3 separate regions of the Homo sapiens genome follow, and all the other regions are linked to region 2. The links are contacts of gene promoters, found by promoter capture Hi-C in human tissues and cell types (Jung and others, 2019). All regions are on one chromosome and are shown on one strand. Each heading gives the region's core, a stretch centred on a gene start or on the middle of the fragment in contact. The rest is flanking DNA. Distances are from core to core; before and after follow the strand shown. Region 1 has its middle 28 kb from the start of MTCL1. Region 2 holds the start of ANKRD12 (ankyrin repeat domain 12). Region 3 overlaps MTCL1 (microtubule crosslinking factor 1).

Evidence for each region. Contacts are between HindIII fragments. The study calls those that stand out against the background at their distance.
Region 1: a contact is called between a fragment that was not itself captured here and the fragment with the promoter of ANKRD12 in region 2, in 1 of the 25 tissues and cell types used here (heart left ventricle).
Region 3: a contact is called between a fragment that was not itself captured here and the fragment with the promoter of ANKRD12 in region 2, in 1 of the 25 tissues and cell types used here (dorsolateral prefrontal cortex).

What each region holds. Positions count from the first base shown.
Region 1 is chr18:8,676,100-8,678,854 of GRCh38, reverse strand. No RefSeq gene overlaps it. Among named protein-coding and RNA genes, the nearest start is that of MTCL1, 28 kb to the left of the region's middle. The HindIII fragment of the contact is 6,680 bases long and covers 1-2,755 here.
Region 2 is chr18:9,135,225-9,138,423 of GRCh38, reverse strand. It overlaps ANKRD12 (ankyrin repeat domain 12), which reads right to left and starts at 1,643. Exons shown (of 13, transcript NM_015208.5): 1 at 1,459-1,643. NDUFV2-AS1 (NDUFV2 antisense RNA 1) reads left to right here and starts at 1,704. Exons shown (of 3, transcript NR_110772.1): 1 at 1,704-2,060. RefSeq lists silencers at 876-925, 966-1,365, 1,576-1,925, 2,276-2,365, 2,368-2,541 and enhancers at 1,496-1,545, 2,036-2,085. The HindIII fragment of the contact is 7,523 bases long and covers 1,283-3,199 here.
Region 3 is chr18:8,710,019-8,712,917 of GRCh38, reverse strand. All of the region lies in intron 1 of MTCL1 (microtubule crosslinking factor 1), which reads right to left. Among named protein-coding and RNA genes, the nearest start is that of GACAT2, 3.8 kb to the right of the region's middle. The HindIII fragment of the contact is 3,424 bases long and covers 1-2,899 here.

The sequences.
Region 1 (2,755 bases), core at 193-2,692, 460 kb after region 2:
ATTAAAGTTGGGAACTTTATCACTAACACCTGGATTAAAATGTAACCACCCAAAGATGAGACAGTTAATTAACAAGTGAAAATGTGCAGCATTACAAATTTCCTTAGCTCAGAAATGAAAGAACAGTGTGAGCAGGGTTATCTTTTCTACTACAGATTACAAACACATAGAAGAAAAGTCAGTTGAGGAATGCACCAGTAAAAATGCCTTTATTTAGTCTGAGTATATGAAAAAAAGACAAAAATTCATAATTTATTTTATTTTATATTTATTTAGAGACGGAGTCTTGCTCTGTTGCCCAGGCTAGAGTACAGTAGTGCAATCTCAGCTCACTGCAACTTCTGCCTCCCAGGTTCAAGCGATTCTCCTGCCTCAGTCTTCTGACTAGCTGGGACTGCAGGCGCCCACCTCCACGCCCAGCTAATTTTTTGTATTTTTAGTAGAGACGGGGTTTCGCCATGTTGGCCAGGCTGGTCTCAAACTCCTGACCTCAAGTGATCCGCCAGCCTCGGCCTCTCAAAGTCCTGGGATTACAGGCGTGAGCCACCATGCCCAGCTCATAATTTATTTTTAAATTAAAAAGAGACAGCAAAAATTATCCCTAGAGACTTGCTTGCACTCCAGGGTGACAATGACAATGTCTCTGGAGAGGAGAGTCACTAGGCCGCCAGCAGCCCCTTCTGAGACTGGTGGTCTCCTAGGCTCAGGGGTCCTCAGCTGTGCACTGATCCCCTGTCTGTGCAGCCTCCCCGACGCCTGCCTCCACAGAGCCCCCGTGGGATTGGGAGGAAAAGGAACTAATTTGAAATAAGTTGTCTGCATCCATACGGATCATGGTTGTCTTACAGGCCAAATCTATGGAAAGGTAGCAAGTCAGCCTGGCAGCTCCCACTGCTGCGGTTTGGGACCCGCTTGACTGCTCATCACTCTTTTGTGAAACCCCTTTTTGCTTATTTTGCCAGTTTTCTACATTTTATATCTGTGGCAATTCCTTATATATTGTGCATATAAGTCCTTCATTATTTAAATGTAATGCAGTATGCATGTGTTTGCAGATAATAAGCATAACATTTTTAAAGTGCATAATATTGAGAACTAAAAGTATATAAGCTGTAAGTGTACAACTTGATGAATTACCACAAAGGGCACACACCCAAGTATCACCAAGCAATAGAACATCACTAGCACCCCAGAAGCCTCCTTGTGCCTCTGCTAGAGTGGCCACTCTCCTGACCTCCAGCGCCATAGGTTAGGTTTGCCTGTCTTGAGCGTTACAGAAATAAAATAGTTTAGTTTTTTTCTTTTGTGTCTTGTTTCTTTTGCTCAGTATTACGTTTATGAGTTTCATACACACATATTGTTTTATATAGCTCTATTTCATTCTTTTTCATTGCTGTATAGAGTTCCATTGCAACTGCCACAATTTATCCATTCCACTGTTCAATTGCTTGCATTTGGGGGCTATTAATAATGCTGCCCCAATAAATATAGACAACTATTACTTGTCAATTTAAAAATGCTACTGTGGGGCTGGGCATGGTGGCTCACGCCTCTAATCCCAGCACTTTGGGATGCCAAGGCGGTTGGATCACCTGAAGTCTGGAGTTCGAGACCAGCCTGACCAACATGGCGAAACCCTATCTCTACTAAAAATACAAAAATTAGCTGGGCACTGTGGTGCACGCCTGTAGTCCCAGCAACTTAGGAGGCTGAGACAGGAGAATCACTTGAACCCAGGAGGCAGAGGTTGCAGTGAGCCAAGATCACGCCATTGTACTCTAGCCTGGGTGACAGAGTGAGACTCCATCTCAAAAAATAAAAATAAAAAAATGCTGATTCACGTGTGCATGCAGTTCTATTAGCTATAATTTTAGTAGATAATACAAAAGAAGTTTCCCAAAATGATGGCTGTACCACAATCTACTCCCATCAAATTATATGAGAGTTACTATCCTCCAACATATGGAATTATTCTCCTAGATATATTGTAAAACCAGCCTCAGTTCCAATAAATACACACATACACACAAAATATACATACGTTTAGAATTTGCACTGAACGTACTGATGATCTCTCTCTCTGCCTTTCTCTGTAATATTAACGCAGTATTTGTTTTCTAAAACATTTAAATTCCTACATAGGTTTAGAAGGAGAGACGTTCTTAAAATTTTCTGTTCTCATAGAGCAGTTGTTTTTAATTATAAGGTTCATGGGCCCTTTTCAGAATAAAACATATAGACTTTCTCCTCTATAAAATGCACGTATGTACAAATGCCCATAGAACTCTACCCGAGCAACCATAGAGACCCAGAAGCTCAGACCCCAGATTAAGGACTCTGTCATGAGGCACAGACCTGAGCCGATTCCTCTCGAGGGGTCTTCCAGGGCTGTTTCCTGCTTTTTAATCTCCCCCTTATTTTCAATGGAGGAAAGCCCTAACTTCTGAATTTGAAAGAGTTAGCCTCATTTCAAGGAGCGGAGGGTCGGCTCCTGCATGCTGTTGTTCCAAGGGGTTGGAGGGCGTCTGAGCTGAGCTCACTCCCTGGCAGCATCTCACTGCCCCTCCGCCTTTGCCCAGGAGCCTCTGCTCTGCTCGCATAGCTGCTATTGCCTATGATGCCAACTCATACAAATCAGTCGTGGCTACCCACCCTCCAGCCACTGGCTCAGTCTCTCCCATCTCCACATTTCCAAGAAGGAACTATCATCCCCCAATTTCCACATTTCCAGGGGAAAAATAGAATTGGCTGGAAC
Region 2 (3,199 bases), core at 394-2,893:
CCCCTGCCTCGGCTTCCCAAGTAGCTGGGATTACAGACATGCGCCACCACGCCTGGCTAATTTTGTATATTTAGTAGAGACGGGGGTTTCACTATATTGGTCAGGCTGGTCTCGAACTCCTGACCTCAGGTGATCTACCCACGTCGGCCTCCCAAAGTGCTGGGATTATAGGCATGAGCCACCGCGCCCGGCTGTGCATATGTTTTTAATACACAGTTAATTTACGATAAAATAGCTATTTCACTAGCCTTTCTTTATAATTTACATAAACCATTCTAAAATGAAAACGAAATACATGACTGCAGATGCAGGCTCATTTCAACTTTAGGATTAGAGGTAATTCCGAACCATTACATACACAGCACTGGATCTGCAACACACTTCACCTTAGTTCGCAGTTTAACCACGGGTGTCCAGTGGAAATTACAATCCCGGTGACTACACTGCTTTAAATGTTTCCTAAGGTTTCAACGAGTGCAACAGTAACTTCCTATCCCAGACAGCGTCTTACTGTTATTACTAAAACAGCTGTCAGCTAAGCTTCGCATACCTCTTTGTACAACCGTTTATTCAACGCTTTGGGATCTGTAAGGATGCGTCACTCCACATCACTCCTCAAAACGAGATCTAAGAACCTGACGTGCTCCAGGGGTCTTGAAGCATCACAAGTGGGTACTTGAAAAACGATGACGGGAACTGCCTGTCCAATGCGGCAAGGTTATTTTACACTGGCATTTAAGACAGAACTGTAGAGTGGCTGCTCTTTCCCCGGACACTACTAAAGCAGCAATTTCCCCTTCTTGATTTCATCCACCTCTCCCAGGACCCGGGTACCTCCGACGCTCCCGGCCCGAGCGGCCGCGGCAGACTCCCCGGCGTCGGCGCACGCTCGGCGGCTGGCGGCGGGAACGCGCGGCGGGCCGGGCGCGCCCCCGCCCCCGCGGGTCCGACCGCCGCACGCCAGCGGCGCCCTCTCGGCCGCGCACACTCACACTCGCACGCACACGCTCCTCCGGCCCCGCCATGTTCCGGGAGGCGGCGGCAGCCCAGCCCCGCCAGCCGCGGTGAGGGGCGCCCGCGACGAGGCCAGCTCGCGGCCCTCCGCCCGGCCCCCGCCCCGCCCCGCGCAGCGCCCCCGCCCAGTTGGCGGCTCCCACCTGCGCCGCGGCTCCTCGCGACGCCGGGAGGGGCGGCGGCGGGCGGGGCCCCGGCGGACCCGCGCCGGGGGGCACTAACGGCCTGTCACTGTCAGGCGAGCTACGGCTCGGGCCAGGCTGGGCGGGCGGCGCGTCGGGACCGGGGGGGGCGGGCAGGGCGCGTCCCCTACCTTGCTCTGGGGAGGGGGAACGGGAGCAGCGCAGAACTGAGGGGATCTCCTCCCTGGCGCCGGGGACAAGCTCGAAACCGCGCCCCTCCTTCCTCCTTTCCTGTCGCCACGCCCCCCTCACCCGTACGGACCCGAGGCAAGGCCGGCGCAGGAGGCTTCACCCCCGGAACGAGTGCTTCGGCGTAGCCGTCGCTGTCGTTGTCTTCGTCGCCGCTGCAGCCGCCTGTAAAGCCGCCGGAGCCGGGCTTGAAAACATCTCCGGTCTCGGTCCGTCTCTCACCACAGCCTCCTCGCTCCCAGGACAGCGTCGCCCCGCGATTGGCTGCGACGCGAGCACGTGACACCCGCGGACACGTGACTACCGCGGGCACGGGACGGGCGGCGTGACCGCCCCGCCCCCCGGCGCCCGCCCCTCCTGCTGCTCAGCCAGGCTCCGCGAGCCGCAGGGCGGGGAAGCGGGACGTACCAAGCGGCAGGCGGCGGAGGGGTGCGGGCCGGAACTCCGCCCTTCGTGCTGGTCGGTCTCCACGCCCCACTCGGACTAGTGTCACCGCCTCCCCGCCGCAGACACTATCCGACAAAGGAGGGGGAATCAAAGGCTGGGCGAAGAGGCAGGGCAGGCGCCGGTGACGCTGCTGGGCAAGCGGGCTCTGCAGTAGCATTTGTGGCGACCGTGGCAGTGGCTGTGACTGGAAGCTTCTGGAAATGGCGGCGATGAGGACCCCCACATAGGGTATTCACCTGTTATTTTTACACGGGGTGGGTGGACGAGCGTGATCCAACTCAGGCAAAATGACGCTGCGACCGCAGCCCGAGGACTAGGCGAAGTTCCCCCGCTAAGCCGGCGGCGGCCGTCTGGCCCCGCACCAGGCCGGAGAAGCTGCACCTACGCCCAGAGCCCGCGGCCCCCCGCCTCAGGTGGGGCCCTGGGCCCCGCCCCGAAAGCGCGGTAGCGTGCACCTGCCCTGGCACCAGGGGGTCTAGAGCGCGTCCCCTCCCAGCCACGCCTTCCAGTGGCCTTTTTAAAGAGGAATTCAGTGCACCCTCCCACACGTAGTGTTGGGGATTTGAGAGGGAGCTGCTCAGGTACTAGGAAGGGTGCCGGAGGAAAATTGACCGTCGCAGCGTGGCAGCAGCGTGTACTCACTCCCTTCTGGGCGCGTTATTTACGTAGAGGTTAATCTGCAACAACAGCGTCTGTTTATGACTTAGTGCATGCAGTTACAAGTTTATGTTACACTGTCCTTTAACGTCTTGATGAACTGAGGGTTCAGGTGTGATCACAGCAGATGAAGTGACATTCAGACCTGACAGGGACGGCGAGGTCCCATCAAATTACTATGTAAAGCATAAACCTGCATTAAAGATCAGGAGTTTTTCCTTTCCTGGGTTCCTGATTTCTCCCACCTACAAATCTTTAGGGTCAACAAGACTAGAAAAAGAGCACCTTATGGCTAGAGGTGGAATAGTGTTACATTTAACTTGGTTATTTATGATGTGAAATACAAAGAAAAAAACAGTCGCCTATGAGAAAGTCAGGAGAGCTCCAGGGTAGGACATTTTCATTGTTACTTTTTTGTGCCACTTGGAAAATTAACTGTTGTTTACCTTCTCTCAATTAAAAAAAAAATCTTAAAGACATACTTAAAAATAATCGTTATAGCCGAGCGCAGTGGCTCACGCCTGTAATCCCAGCAATTTGGGAGGCTCAGGCGGGCAGATGGCTTGAGCCCAGGAGTTTGAGACCAGCCAGGCAACATAGTAAGACCCTGTCTCTAAAAAAATATATGAAAATTAACCAGGCTGGTGGCGCCTGCCTGTGCTCCCAGCTGCTCAGGAGGCTGAGGCCAGGGTATTGCAGTGAACCAAGAT
Region 3 (2,899 bases), core at 94-2,593, 430 kb after region 2:
CTCTATTTTAGCACCTCCTCTTTAAATAGACCCAGTTTGGATGGTAGAAGGAGTCCTCTGGCTACTGCTGCAATAATTCTATCTTCTGGGCAGACAGAAACTACTGTCTTTTGTAACATACGAATAATCCACCTCATTTCCCTCCAGACAAGGGAAATGTTCTCCAAGAGTCCCAGCTGTAACTAAGGAGGTGCAGGGCGACTCCCACTGTCTACCAGGTGATGGTCCAGCCAGCAGCTGGTGGCCGCAGCCCTTGTCTACATTAACTGCCACTGAAAATGATCATAGCCACTCTTTCAGTGGCTGAATACAGAGTGGGTATGGACAGCGAATGTCAGGAAAGAATGGGGAATACTGTCCATGTTAACCCTTCTGAAAGAGAAAGGAGGAGGAGGCGGGGAGCAAGGAGGCGCTGAGACACCTCAGCTACAGAGCACTGCTTGCGCTCCTCTCCAAGTGCCCCTCCACCCCCAGGCCACACTGAGCACCCGGCATCTGGGCAGCCCAGCTGCCAAATGTCAAAAACCAGGTCAGGGCCTGAAACTCAAAAGGCTAACTCCAATGAGAAGCAGGATGGTAAGCTTGGATCAGCAGTGAGACACTGCAACCTATAAAACCAAAACTCAACCTCTCCCTTAGGAAATCATTCCTCTCCAAGAAGCCAATTTTCTCTGCCCTTGTATCTAGCACCAACTTGTTTTCTTTTAACAGAAAAATATTTCCTATGAAATAACTGAGAAAGCAAAGCAAAGCAAAAAGAAACAGCTCTTCCCACCCCAATCCTCACCCACCCTGCAGGAGGTCAGCATGGCAAGAGGACACTATTTGGGGGTGGGGGAGGTGTGGGGTTATGGCTGCTAAAAGCATTTTCAAAATAGGCTCATAAATGCCAACTGATTAAATCCTCCTGAAAAGCCTGTGGAAACAGAGAACATAATTAATATGTTGACAACGAGCACTCCGGCTTGTCTGACTGTCTCCGAGCACTCGAGCAAAACACAGTCTTGGCAGCCTGGCAGGGAAGGAACACACCAGCGCTTTACCAAAGTCCTCAGCATTAAGAAAGTGCCTGGGTTCAACCTACAACATGGGAGAAAATTTTTGCAACCTACTCATCTGACAAAGGGCTAATATCCAGAATCTACAATGAACTCAAACAAATTTACAAGAAAAAAACAAACAACCCCATCAAAAAGTGGGCGAAGGACATGAACAGACACTTCTCAAAAGAAGACATTTATGCAGCCAAAAAACACATGAAAAAATGCTCACCATCACTGGCCATCAGAGAAATGCAAATCAAAACCACTATGAGATATCATCTCACATCAGTTAGAATGGCAATCATTAAAAAGTCAGGAAACAACAGGTGCTGGAGAGGATGTGGAGAAATAGGAACACTTTTACACTGTTGGTGGGACTGTAAACTAGTTCAACCATTGTGGAAGTCAGTGTGGCGATTCCTCAGGGATCTAGAACTAGAAATACCATTTGACCCAGCCATCCCATTACTGGGTATATACCCAAAGGACTAGAAATCATGCTGCTATAAAGACACATGCACACGTATGTTTATTGCGGCATTATTCACAATAGCAAAGACTTGGAACCAACCCAAATGTCCAACAATGATAGACTGGATTAAGAAAATGTGGCACATATACACCATGGAATACTATGCAGCCATAAAAAATGATGAGTTCATGTCCTTTGTAGGGACATGGATGAAACTGGAAATCATCATTCTCAGTAAACTATCACAAGAACAAAAAACCAAACACCGCATATTCTCACTCATAGGTGGGAATTGAACAATGAGATCACATGGACACAGGAAGGGGAATATCACACTCTGGGGACTGTCGAGGAGTAGGGGGAGTGGGGAGGGATAGCATTGGGAGATATACCTAATGCTAGATGACGAGTTAGTGGGTGCAGCACACCAGCATGGCACATGTATACATATGTAACTAACCTGCACAATGTGCACATGTACCCTAAAACTTAAAGTATAATAAAAAAAAAAAAAGTAAAAAAAAAAAGAAAAAAGAAAACAGATTAAAAAAAAAAAAAAAAAAAAGAAAGCCTTCCATACCAAAATTCAAACCCCTCCTTTATCAGACATTGCCCTAGACTACTCAAGCCTAACATAGACTAGTTCCCAAGCTTTACTCCCTGCCCCCATTTATTGCTCCTTTATGCTACAAACATGATTGCAAGAGGGAAAATGTAATTTTTAAAATTCACTTTGGTAAAAGGGATTCCAATGATTTCATTACCACCTTAAACTTTTGTGAAAAAAAAAAACTCATCACTTTAAATTATTAAAGTGTATATTTAACCATTATTGTCATCCAGGTACACTTTCAACAGTTTTGTTTCTATTAAGGCTGTAATTATTTTATAAGGAAACATTAAATATTTACCATAATTAAAGAGAAAAAAAAAAAAAAAAAAAAAGAAAGTGCCTGGGTTTTATGAGAAGCCCAGGCCTTTGGATAACTGAAGTGCTCACCTGAATTTCTGAATACTTCCAAATGTATTTGAGTTTATCAGAGGTCAAAGGACAACAAGAGTGCTTTTCTGTCTGTGTTTTCACACAAAAGCCAGCTACCTGGATTGATTTTGCATTTTTCACCTAGTCACCCAGGCACCATTTGATGAAGGTGGAGAAGGAACAGAAAGCAGAGTCAGGGACGACCAAATTTGCTCTGTTACAGCACAACACAAGGTGTCCGCTTCTCTGTTGACACTGACTATTTAAAAAAATACAGGCCAGGCCGGGCGCGGTGGCTCATGCCTGTAATCCCAGCACTTTGGGAAGCCGAGGCGGGCAGATCACCTGAAGTCAGGAGTTCAAGACCAGCCTGGCCAACATGGTGAAACCCTGTCTCTACTA